2 separate regions of the Homo sapiens genome follow, and region 2 is linked to region 1. Evidence: promoter capture Hi-C in human tissues and cell types (Jung and others, 2019). All regions are on one chromosome and are shown on one strand. The core of a region is centred on a gene start or on the middle of the fragment in contact, and the rest is flanking DNA. Distances in the headings are between cores, read along the strand shown.

Region 1 (5,482 bases), core at 1,680-4,179:
CCAAGGACTGCTCATTTCCATCCTGACTGAAGGTCTCTTTCCATTTTTGCTAGTATTGCTTCCAGTTAAGATCCTCATAATCATTCACTCATTTATTCCTTCGTCACTCAACAAATAAATATTTATGGAGCTCCTATTACGATTTAGCCATAATCAACTCACATGAAGCTTACCATTTTATGCTGAATCATGACATCCCATCAGACAGCAACCACACGGACCGTGTGCTAAGAGCTACGAAGAGCTAAGTTAGGATTCTGTGCAAGCATAAAGGAAAGGCACTCAATCCAGCTTTGTTAGGGAAGACTTCCCCGAGAAAGCCACGTCTCTACTGAGGAGGTGAGCAGGAGTTAGCCTAGGGAAGGCTGTTAGCTAGGGCCCAGACTGAGAGCACAGCGATAACAAAGCTTGTTGACATGAGAAAACCTCCAATCAGCTGGGATGGCTGGAGCAGAGAGTAAGATCAGGAGTGCAGACTTATAGCTGCGCTAACTTTACACAGGCAACTGGGGAGTCCCCAAGGGATGTTAGAAGGATAGAGTCAATGAGTGATGGCTTTTGGAGAGATCACCCTGTCTGCTATGTGAGAGGTAGTGACAGGACTTCTGGAGCTCAACAGGAGTTACGGAGACATCCTGGCAATCCAAAAAGCAAAGATGATGGCTTCCACGTTATGGTGGAAGAGGCTGGGAAACAACACAAAGGAGCCAGTTTCTAGAGAGGATTAAGGAGGGGGCTCGAGCAGGACTTGGTAACCGGTTGGCTGTTGGGAGGAGGAGCATTAACCTGTGACCCACAGGCAGGCACTGAGACAGCCTCTTTGGACTGGAATGTTAAGGAATGTCGCCTTAAGGCGCTAGCACTCAAGCTTTCTGCTCGTGCATCCCCTTGCACACTTTCTCCTTGACGTTCAGGCTGGGCATGGTGGCTGACGCCTGTAAACCCAGCACTCCCAGAGGCCGAGGCGGGAGGATGGCTTGAGCCCAGGAGATCGAGACCAGCCTGGGCAAGAAGGCAAGACCCCGTCTCTAAAAAACTTTAAAAAATAAAAATAGGCCGGATGCGGTGGCTCATGACTGTAATCCGAGCACCTTGGGAGGCCGAGGTGGGTGATCATTTGAGGTCAGGAGTTCGAGACCAGCCTAGCCAACATGGTGAAACCCCACCCGTACTAAAAATACAAAATAAGTAGCCGGGCGTGGTGGCGGGTGCCTGTAGTTCCAGCTACTCGGGAGGCTGAGGCAGGAGAATCACTTGAACCCAGGAGGCGGAGGTTGCAGTGAGTCGAGATCATGACAGTGCACTCCAGCCTGGGCAACAAAGTGAGACTCCTTCTCAAAAAATAGAATAAAATAAAATCAAAATAGGCCGGGAGCGGTGGCTCACGCCTGTAATCCCAGCACTTTGGGAGTCCGAGGCGGGCGGATCACGAGGTCAAGACACTGAGACCAGCCTGACCAACAAGGGGAAACCCCGTCTCTACTAAAAATACAAAAATTAGCTGGGCGTGGTGGTGCGCCCCTGTGGTCCCAGCTACTCGGGAGGCTGAGGCAGGAGAATCGCTTGAACCCGGGAGGCGGAGGTTGCAGTGAGCCGAGATGGCGCCACTGCGCTCCAGCCTGGGCGAGAGTGAGACTTCGTCTCAAAATAAATAACTAAATAAAGACCAATAACTGTTTCCCATAGGGTTATGTAGTTGCAAATGAAAAAATTACTGGCATGTACTGCCTCTGCATATGAAGCATAATTTTGTCAAGACCTTATACCTGCAGATTTAGCTCTTTCGATTAACGGAAAATGTCCAAAATCAGTCTCCTCCAACCTATTTGCCGAACTGGACTTACTGTCGCTGAGTAGACCGACCGACATAGCTTACACGTTGTTCAGCTCGCTTGTAAGCAAACACACGAAACCACCTCACCCCTGACTTCAGAAAGAAGCCGTCCCGTGAATTCCTCACAGATGAAATCAGGAGCTGCCCCTCAAGGACTCTATTTCTTCCTTCGGCTCTATCAAATATTTTAAGGTACTTCCCAGCAACGGAAACATGGGACCCTGCAATGACAGACTTCGCATTCCTCCTGAGCGGACAGGCAATAAGCAAGTAAACGCGCAAATACCCAAGTGCGGCCTCAACCCGCGCTCCTGCCGGGAGGGTCTCCAGTCACCGAGTAACCCCGGCCCTGCCCCGCGCCGCCGCCGGGACTCCGCCCCGCAAGCAAGTGGGGTCTCCTTTGTCCCGCGCGCCCTGGCCGCGTCCCGCCCTTCGGCGTAGCCCATGGGAGGCGCCCTGAGGGCAGGGCCCTTCTGATTCCCCACCTGGCCTCGAGTGAGGACGCGCTCAACAACATCTCGAGTAAAGCGGGGGAACTCGCTTCAACGCGCAGACAGCACAGCTCTCGCCCAGCCCGGTCTCGGGTCAGCCGTCTCTCCCTGGACCTCAGGGACACTAGCCCTGGAAGGCCGCCGGTCGGGAGGGGACTCCCTCCCCGTCTGAGGGGCGGCCGCGGACACCCGGCGCCTTTCCCCCGCCCCACCCCGTGCGGCCTCACGCAAACGACAGGAAAAAAGCTGGGACCTTCGCCTCCGACTCAGTGTAGACGTCGCCATCCCGGTTCCAGATTTCCGCGCTCCAACGCCTCCGCAGCAGCCATCTTGCCAGAGGGCCGACGCCTTTTGACTCTGGCGCCAACCCGTAGTGCGTGGTCGCCGCGAGGGGAGTTCTGCGCAAGTACGGAAGCTGAGGTTCCGCGCTTCCGGGAGGCCGTCCGCCCCGCCCCCTCGCGGGGGCGCTTCATTGGTCATCGGCTCGCGCTCTCGCGCTCTCTTGCTGTCGCGAGAGGTGCTGAGGGGCGGCCTCCGGTGCGCCTGCCCTCCCGCTCCCCGCCCCCGCCCCCGCCCCCGCCTCCGCCGCGGCCCCCACCTCTGCCTCCTTCTACTCGGGCGCCCCGGCGGCCGCCACCTCTCCCCAGCCCAGGAGAGGCTGCGGAGCCGCAGCCGCCCAGACCGCGCAGCGCGGGAGGCAGGTTCCGCACGGTAAGATGGCGGCGGCGGGCCCGGGCGGCCGGGCCGAGCGTCTCCCGGGGCCGGGCCGGGCGGGCAGGCGGGATGTGGCCGGGGTGCGCGCCGCCCCCGCTCTGGGGGCCTTGGAAGCGCCGGCGCTGGCAGGTGCGGAATTGGGGCGCGCAGTGAGTCCAGGCCCGGACGGCCGCCCCGCGCCGGTGCCCAGGGGGCAGTCAGGGCTCAGCCTCCAGGCGCGCGGCCTCAGGCGCTGGTGTTCTGGGGCGGTCCCGGCCAGCCTGAGGGGCGGCGGTAGCTGTCTCTGTGGAGGAGCGACGTCCGTAACGAAGTCTTTTTAATAAAATCTGCTGCTTTAAAGCAGAAACCGAGCGGGTGAGGATGTAAAGTGTGGCATGGAAAGTAGGAGTCTTCAGCACACGGGTGTTTTCTTCTGCTGAATCTTTTTATGCTGGAGTTTGAGACTACCGAGTTCTTCCTGCTAACAGGACTGGCCAGTTCTACAAAGTTGTTGCTTTTCATGGGCGCACGTAACTGCCCGGAGTGGAAGCGCTGTGAGTGCCGATCACCGAATGGGCCGAGAGAAAAGGTGCCTTTTCCTAGGGAGCTCTTAACGTTGGTCCTAGGGCCGGGCGCGGTGGCGGAGGTCGAAGTGGGCGGATCACTTGAGCCCGCGAGTTCGAGACCAGCCGTGGCAACAGCGAGACTCCCTTCTCTGCTAAAAATAAAAAAATTAGCCAGGCAGAGTGGTGCGCTCCTGTTGTCCCAGTTACTCTGGAGGCTGAGGTGGGAGGATCGCTTGAGCCCAGGAGGTCGAGGCTGCGGTGAGCCATGATCGCGCCACTGCCCTCCAGCCTGGGCGACAGAGCGAGGCTCTGTCTCAAAAAAAAAAGAAAAAGAAAATGAGTCCTTAAGTTACCATTAATTGTCGTGAATAAAAAGTTGGTCTCAGTGAGTTTTGCAGTTGACAACGAAAGATGGGTGTTCGTGTGTGACAGCGACTCCTGGTTTCTCCTCCACTTTACCTGCCGCTCCACATCAAGTTTTCTTCTGCTGGTGCCACTTTCTCTGCTTTACCTTCAAGGTTGGCATCCTCCAAGTAATGGCGATTCTCATTCCCTATCTACGCTCTTCCTATGGTCTTTGCTGAATTCTTGGCTTTAAATATCCCTGTGCCCCAGCACCGCCCCCCCCGCCCCTTATTTCACTAATTCATGTTTTCAGCTCTGAGCTCAGGATCTGTAATTCAGACACCTGCTTGATTTCTCCAGACGCATGTCTAATAGTCACGTCAAACTTGCCCTGCTTCTCAAACCTGTTCTTCTTCCAGTCCTTCCTCCTTATTTGTGGCCCCATCTTGCAGGGCCTCTCATGCTTGAAACCTGTGACCATCTTCTATTCTTCCCTCTCTTTTGTCCGGTAATCTGTCTAGCAGCAGCCATTGACTCTGGCCAAAGCATCTTGATCTCACCTTGCTCTCCATCTCTTCTGCCGATGTTCTCTCTCGCTTGGGTGTCTCCCTAAGGGACTGGCTGCTCAGATCTCACCACCCTGCATTCATCCCATTTTCAGCCAAGAGACCAAAGTTTTTTAATTTATTGAAACACTTTAGCAGTACTTCGTATAAAGTAGTATGTGTAACGTATGTATCAGTGGCAAAAGAGAAAGACAGAGTGGACGGTGGCGTGCCCCTGCCTGTCTCAGGTATCCACCCATTCTCCCAAAGCCGGAACAGCTGCCTCTGGGGCTTCAGCCATTTGCCCCTCCCACAGGTAACCCCCTCCTGAGTGTCAGCTTTCATGCCCTTATTTAAAAAAAAACAAACAAAATAGGTTTGCCACGTACATATTTGTTGCTAAAGCACATGTCATGTATTTTGTCTTGTTGTTCCTGATAAAACTCACGGCAGATTTGGCCTCTCCTGCAACTCTCTTTTTCTTTTCTTTTTTTTCTTTTTTTTTTTTTTTGAGACGGAGTCTCGCTCTGTCGCCCAGGCTGGAGTGCAGTGGCACCATCTCGGCTCACTAGAAGCTCCACCTCCCGGGTTCACGCCATTCTCCTACCTCAGCCTCCCGAGTAGCTGGGATTACAGGCATCTGCCACCATGCCCGGCAAATTTTTTTTTTTTTTTTGAGACGGAGTCTTGTTCTGTCGCCCAGGCTGGAGTGCAGTGGCATGATCTCGGCTCACTGCAATCTCCGCCTCCCGGGTTCACGCCATTCTCCTGCCTCAGCCTCTGGAGTAGCTGGGACTACAGGCGCCCGCCACCGAGCACGGCTAATTTTTTGTATTTTTAGTAGAGACGGGGTTTCACCGTGTTAGCCAGGATGGTCTGGATCTCCTGACCTTGTGATCCGCCCGCCTCGGCCTCCCAAAGTGCTGGGATTACAGGCGTGAGCCACCGCGCCCGGCCGCAACTCTCTTTTTTCATTCAGCATTGTTTTATGAGAGTCATCCAGGTGAC
Region 2 (5,588 bases), core at 2,122-4,621, 1.1 Mb after region 1:
GTCCATCCCGCCCCAGGCTTGCTGCACATCCATATGCCACACACACACTGTCACCTGCATGAAGGGCCACACTGGGAGTCTCATTCACACGCATGCAGAACCACAGACACACTCTCAGAGGCGTGTGCTCCCCCGTACCTGGGAGGCTGAGCCGCGAGTGAGTTTCCACACCAGGGCAGTAAAGGTTCAGCTCTCCCCACCGACTCCCCACCTATGCAGAGGGGGTGCTGGGGCAGGATATGCCCTTCCCCCAGGAGGGAGGTGCATGCCCCTCCTCTTGGCTTATACCTGCCAGGCCCTAGGGAGTGTGTCTGTGTCTGGGTGTTCACTTTTGGGGGTGATTACTCCAAACTTCCCTGAACACGTGGGTTTGAGGTCGAGAGGACCAAGAGGTCAGCATGGAAAGACGGTGTCCAGGCCGGGCGCTGGGCTCACACCTGTAATCCCAGCACTTTGGGAGGCCGAGGCGGGCGGATCACGAGGTCAGGAGATCGAGACCATCCTGGCTAACACGGTGAAACCCCGTCTCTACTAAAAATACAAATTAGCCACGTGTGGTGGTGGGCGCCTGTAGTCCTAGCTACTCAGGAGGCTGAGCAGAATGGTGTGAACCCAGCAGGTGGAGCTTGCTGTGAACCGAGATTGCTCCACTGCACTCCAGCCTGGGTGACACAGCGAGACTCCGTCTCAAAAAAAAAAAAGAGAGAGAAAGAAAAAGAAAGAGGGTGTCCAGTCCTCCTGGGGGCTAGTGAGATACGACTCCAGAGTTGGGGGGTCTTGGGATGTGAAGCCTGTGCTCTCCTGCCTTGGCCATCGGACCTGTCTCTGGGCAGAGCTGGACAGGTCACCCGGGTGGGGGGAGCGCTGTGGGTGTAGCATGGTGCTGTCCTCCCTGGGGTGAGTTAGAACAGCTGACGGAGACCCTGGAGTCTGTGTCTGCATGTGGGCTGCCAACCTGCCAGCCTCCCTCAGGAAAGGGGGCCGTACTGGGCAGTCCTTGGGCATGGAAGTTTTAAGGTGGAGGCAAGGGCGATGAAACCCTAGCGGGGGTGTGACAGGATTGCTGGTATAGTCTGACCTCCGATAGGCTTGAGTTAACCTGGGGGTGGGACAGGAGGGGAGTGGAGGGCTGGGGGGGAGTGTGGACCCATGCCTGCTACCCACGCTCTCTGGGATGTGTCACGGAAGGATGAAGGAGTGCTATGAGGTTCAAGCTAGGAGTCAGGCTCCCTGGGGGCGATTCGGAGGGAAGGGGCGTCCAGGGCTATTTGGGGAACTGCTTTTCCCTCCCTGCAAACACCACAGATGTCAGTGTGCAGAGGAAAGGCCCGAGGATTTATTGTGGCCTCTCCGTCCGGGGACCCAGCTCCAGGCTCCTCCTTTATAGAAAGCAAACATCTGTATTCCTCACATTGCAAAAGTCTTTGCCACAGTGACGCTTCTGATCACTGAAACTTCTTGGAAGAAAAGTTTAAGAGTTTAATTAAAAATTAAATATATTGTATTAGGTATATTTTTTAAAAGGGCAAAGTAAAAAATATTAATACAATCTGGTTGTAGAAAATACACTGCAAGAAAAGGAGCAGGTGCTTCAAAAATGTAACCCTGGCAACTCTGCCAACAGGTCCTGGGCTCGGGCTTCCTGGAAAAGCCCCGGGACACGTGGGAACTCCAGGCACCCTCGCAGGGGCCCCCCGAGGGCAGGTGGCCCAGAAGCCCAGGAAGGGTGGCCTGGGAGGTGGAACGGGCGCAAGGCCGAGCATCACTGGCTCCTAGGGGGCTGTGACATGGAACCAAACATACACGCGTATGAGAGAGCAGAGCGGCAGCGACGCGGTCGGATCGGTCGCGGGGGCTGCGGGAGGAAGCGCTGCAGGGACCCGGGCGGCGCCGGCGGCCTAGCCGGAGATGCACGCGCTGTAATAGACCGCGCTGCTGGCGTCCGACAGCGCGGAGATCAGGCTGCTCTCCTCTGGGCAGGACATGGCGCGCGGGCCCAGTTTGGCCAGTGCCACGTGGTACGGGAGCCCGGGGGCGTCGGGCCGAGTCCGGCTGCAGTTGAGGTACTGGTCGAACTCGGTGAGGTCCACGTCGGCCCACAGATCGGCGGCGGGCCCCAGCGGCTCGGCGCTCTCCAGCGGCGGGGCCTCGGGCGGCGGCGACAGCGGGCCGGGGTACGGGCCGGGCGTGCCCAGGGTGCCGTAGTACAGGCCAGCGAGCGGCGCCGCGGGGGGCGCGGTCCTGAGCGCCTCCGCCAGGGGAGCCCCGTAGCAACCGCCGGGGTCCCGCGACAACTCGGTGGGCGCGTAGGGCGCGCGGAAGGGCCGCAGCGCGCAGTCCTCGGGCGCCGCGGGCGGTGGGAAGAAGGCAGCCTCGCCGGGCTCCAGGCCGTCCAGAGGCGAGCGCTCGGGCGTGGGCAGCCCCAGGCCGTCGAACTCGGCGCCCAGCGGGGGCAGCTCGCGGAAGGCGCGAGCCGAGCCAGACGCCGCGGGGAAAGGCTCGGGCGGTGGCTGCGGGGGCGCTAATCCCGGGAGCAGGAGGCCGGGCTCCAGCCGCCGGGCCTTGCGCGCCTGCTTCTTGCGGCGCGGCCGGTACTTGTAGTTGGGGTGGTCGCGCAAGTGCTGCACGCGCAGCCGTTCGGCTTCCTCCACGAAGGGCCGCTTCTCCGCCGCGTTCAGCTCCTTCCACGCTTTGCCTGCGGGCCGTGGGCGCCAGTGAGTGGAACGCCGTCGGGCGGGTGGGCGCCGAGCCCTCCGTGCGCCCGGGACGCCCCGCGAGGGTTTGGCGCAGCCCCCGCACCCCGCGGCCCGGGACCCCTGCCCCCCCCGCCCCACCCCGGCCCGAGCCCCCCCCGCCCTCTCCCCCTTCTCTGCCGCCCTCCCGCCGCTCACCCAGCATCTTGCTGAGCACCGCGTTGTGCAGGTCCGGGTTCTGCTGAGCCAGCCGCTTGCGCTCGTCCTTTGCCCACACCATGAAGGCGTTCATGGGCCGCCGGATGCGCGACTCGTCTGCCGCCTGGCGTTCCCCGCGGCCGGCCGGGCTGAGGCCATAGCGCCCCGGCTCGGGGCTGCGCGGGGGACTGCGCTGCGGGCTGGGCGGCGAGGCGGGCGCGGCGGGCGCGGCGAGGGCGGCGGGGCCGGCGGCGAGGCCGCGCGTGTCAGCGGCGGCCCCGTGTCCCGGGGCCCATGCACAGTCGCGGCGGGCGGGCGGGTCGTCCTGTGCGCCGTAGCCGGGCGGCGATCTCTGCATTCCAGCTGGGCGCGGCCTGGGCGGAACGGAGCGCGGGAGCGCGGCGGGCGGGCGGCGGGCACTGGGGAGCCGGGCGCAAGGGCAGGCCAGGCCGGGAGGGCGGATGGCGGTGGGGACGGCGGTGGCCTCGGGCCGGGCGGGCGCCCAGATATAGCGGCTCAGGGCCAATCGGCGGCGGGGCGGGCGGGCGGGGGCGGGTCGGGGCCGCCTCCTCCCCGGGGGCTCCCTTTCTTCTCAGGCCGGGCGGGATTCCGCTGAGGCCTCCCCCGCGCACAGCCCCCCCACCTCCCCCGCGACCTCTCAGAAGGAGAGACCCCCCGGGTGGGAAAGAAAGGGCTGCTGATGAGGGCCGGTGCTGCCAGACTTTCGGAGGCGAGCTGCCACCCACCCACGGAGTCGGACCCCCGGGCAGTAACTGGGGGAGGGCGGCAGTGTCCCGCTGGTTGCCGTTCCCCGCCCCCCGCTGGGAGGCTCCATGGGGAGGAGAGGGCCCTTTTTCACACCAAGTTCTGGGGAGGCTGCCTTCCCAACAGCCGGTAAGTCCTTCCTGGAGTGCAGCGCCTTCAGAAAAGGCCCCGTCTTTGGGGAGGCGCTCTGAGTCCCCAGGGGCGCCCATGCTGGAAACTCTACACCCATGTGTAACCGTCAGCACCAGGGACTTTGAGTGCCTTTATGGGACAAGATGGTCTTCTGTCCTCACTCCCAAACCAACTCTGGCACAAGGCAAAGCTGACACAGGGAGGGAGAGAGCAGAGGCCCTGGACGGAGCCCACAAAGAGAAGGGGGAGCAGGGACGCAGAGGCTGTGGCGTCCTCCCTGCCCCCCAAGGGCCCTTGGGGAAGGGGCTGGGACCCTCAGTGGCTTGCTGGCTCCCCTGCCCAGCCCAGGCCACCGCTGCAGCAAGAGGCAGGGCCTACCTGGGTCCTTCCCACTGGCCCCTCCCTGGACCCTCTGACCTGGGCGGGGGCGGGTTCCGGAGGAGCGTCCAGCTTCCTGAATTTTCACTGTCCCCTTCCTACTCCATCAGGAGGGGATCTGGGCTCCAGAGCTGAGGGTCTCCCTCTGGAGGTCCTCCCCTCCCACTGCCACGCATGGTTCTACTGGAGAAGGGTTGGGTGTCCCCAGCAGCCCTCCAGGCAGGGTCAGAATCTCGCCACCTCGCGGCACATCTCCTCATAGCCTGGAGGCTCCCCAGCTCCCCCCGCCACACTATGCCGGGAGCCCCATGGGTAGAGGCCACAGGTCTTGTGACCCTGAGCCTGTGTGGCCAGAAGCTCTTGGTTCTCTGTCCCTGCCAGCCTCGCTAGGCCACATCCAGCCTGTGTTATGAATGGGGTGGGCCCCACGTGGGCCTTGCAGTGCCCCTTAGAGGCTGTTCCTGAACTGTCCCCAGGGGCACTCCTGCCCTGAGGCCAGCACCCCCACAGGGGCACTCCCACCGAGGGCTGTCGCGGTCGGTGTCCAGCCCTCCCCAAAGCCCCACATCACAGTCTGTCTCGACGCCCATCGTCCCAGCATACGGGGCTGGGTCTCCCAGTCTGGTCTCCAGATCTCCCGTCCCTCCAGTTTGCCCCACGGGCCTAGCACCTCGTTCACAGACACTGAGCCAGTGCTGGCTAATGGGGGGCCCGTGGGGCACCAGGAGGTGCGGCCCCTGGCTTTTCTGGGGAGGCAGGCAGGGTTGTGGCCACAGGGATGGAGGGGCTCACAGGCCTCTGCCGGATGCTGCTAGTCCTCCTTTAATCTCAGTATGGGTGGCTGGACCCTTGGCCGAGTCTCAGTGTGGGTGGGCCTCCTGGGCAGCTGGCAGGAGGGTGCAGGGGGGGTGGGGAGCCGTGCGAAGACCCCAAAGGGCTACCACTTGGCGGAAGCTCTCTCTACTCACAACCTTAGGGTTGCAGTCAGGGGTCACCAGGGCCTGGCTCAGCCTGGGCAGTGGCTGGTCACTGCGGCCTGGGAAAGAGGTCCTCGGGGTCCTCTGCAGTAGCCCTCACACGTGGGGAAGGATTTGCAGTTCCCTGGGGGCCCTGCTTGGTCCTCTGCCACCCCCGAGAGCCCAGAGTCACTGGAGCTGCTCTAAACATAGTGGCAGGCAGTGTCCGGCATGACCTCATCGCCTCCACGTCCCCCACAACACCCACCAGCAGCCGCCTTGCCTGGCGCCAGCCAGTGACCCACCCTCTTGGCTGGGCTGTGGACTCAGGTGTCCGGCTGTCATGTCCTGTGAGTCGGGGCTGGGCGGGGAGCCTCCTGAGGTGCTCCTCTCCCTCTGCGTGGCAGGGAGGAGGCTGGCAGCCCTGGCCCAGTGTCCAGATGGGACAAAGTGGGGGTAGGGACCA

What was found. The method cuts DNA at HindIII sites, captures the fragments that hold promoters and counts their contacts. A contact is called where the count stands out against the background at its distance.
Region 2: a contact is called between the fragment with the promoter of SOX18 here and the fragment with the promoter of GID8 in region 1, in 1 of the 25 tissues and cell types used here (dorsolateral prefrontal cortex).

Annotation. Positions count from the first base shown.
Region 1 is chr20:62,935,218-62,940,699 of GRCh38, forward strand. It overlaps GID8 (GID complex subunit 8 homolog), which reads left to right and starts at 2,930. Exons shown (of 5, transcript NM_017896.3): 1 at 2,930-3,036. It also overlaps a transcript of DIDO1 not described here. RefSeq lists silencers at 2,131-2,180, 2,451-2,500, 2,871-3,100, 3,171-3,300 and an enhancer at 2,996-3,664. The HindIII fragment of the contact is 10,021 bases long and covers 638-5,482 here.
Region 2 is chr20:64,046,268-64,051,855 of GRCh38, forward strand. SOX18 (SRY-box transcription factor 18) reads right to left here and starts at 3,372. Exons shown (of 2, transcript NM_018419.3): 1 at 2,892-3,372; 2 at 1,315-2,695. The coding sequence starts at 3,249. The coding sequence ends at 1,899. RefSeq lists enhancers at 1-171, 3,243-3,924, a silencer at 3,062-3,111 and promoters at 3,249-4,357, 3,252-4,149, 3,252-3,512. The HindIII fragment of the contact is 20,169 bases long and covers 1-5,588 here.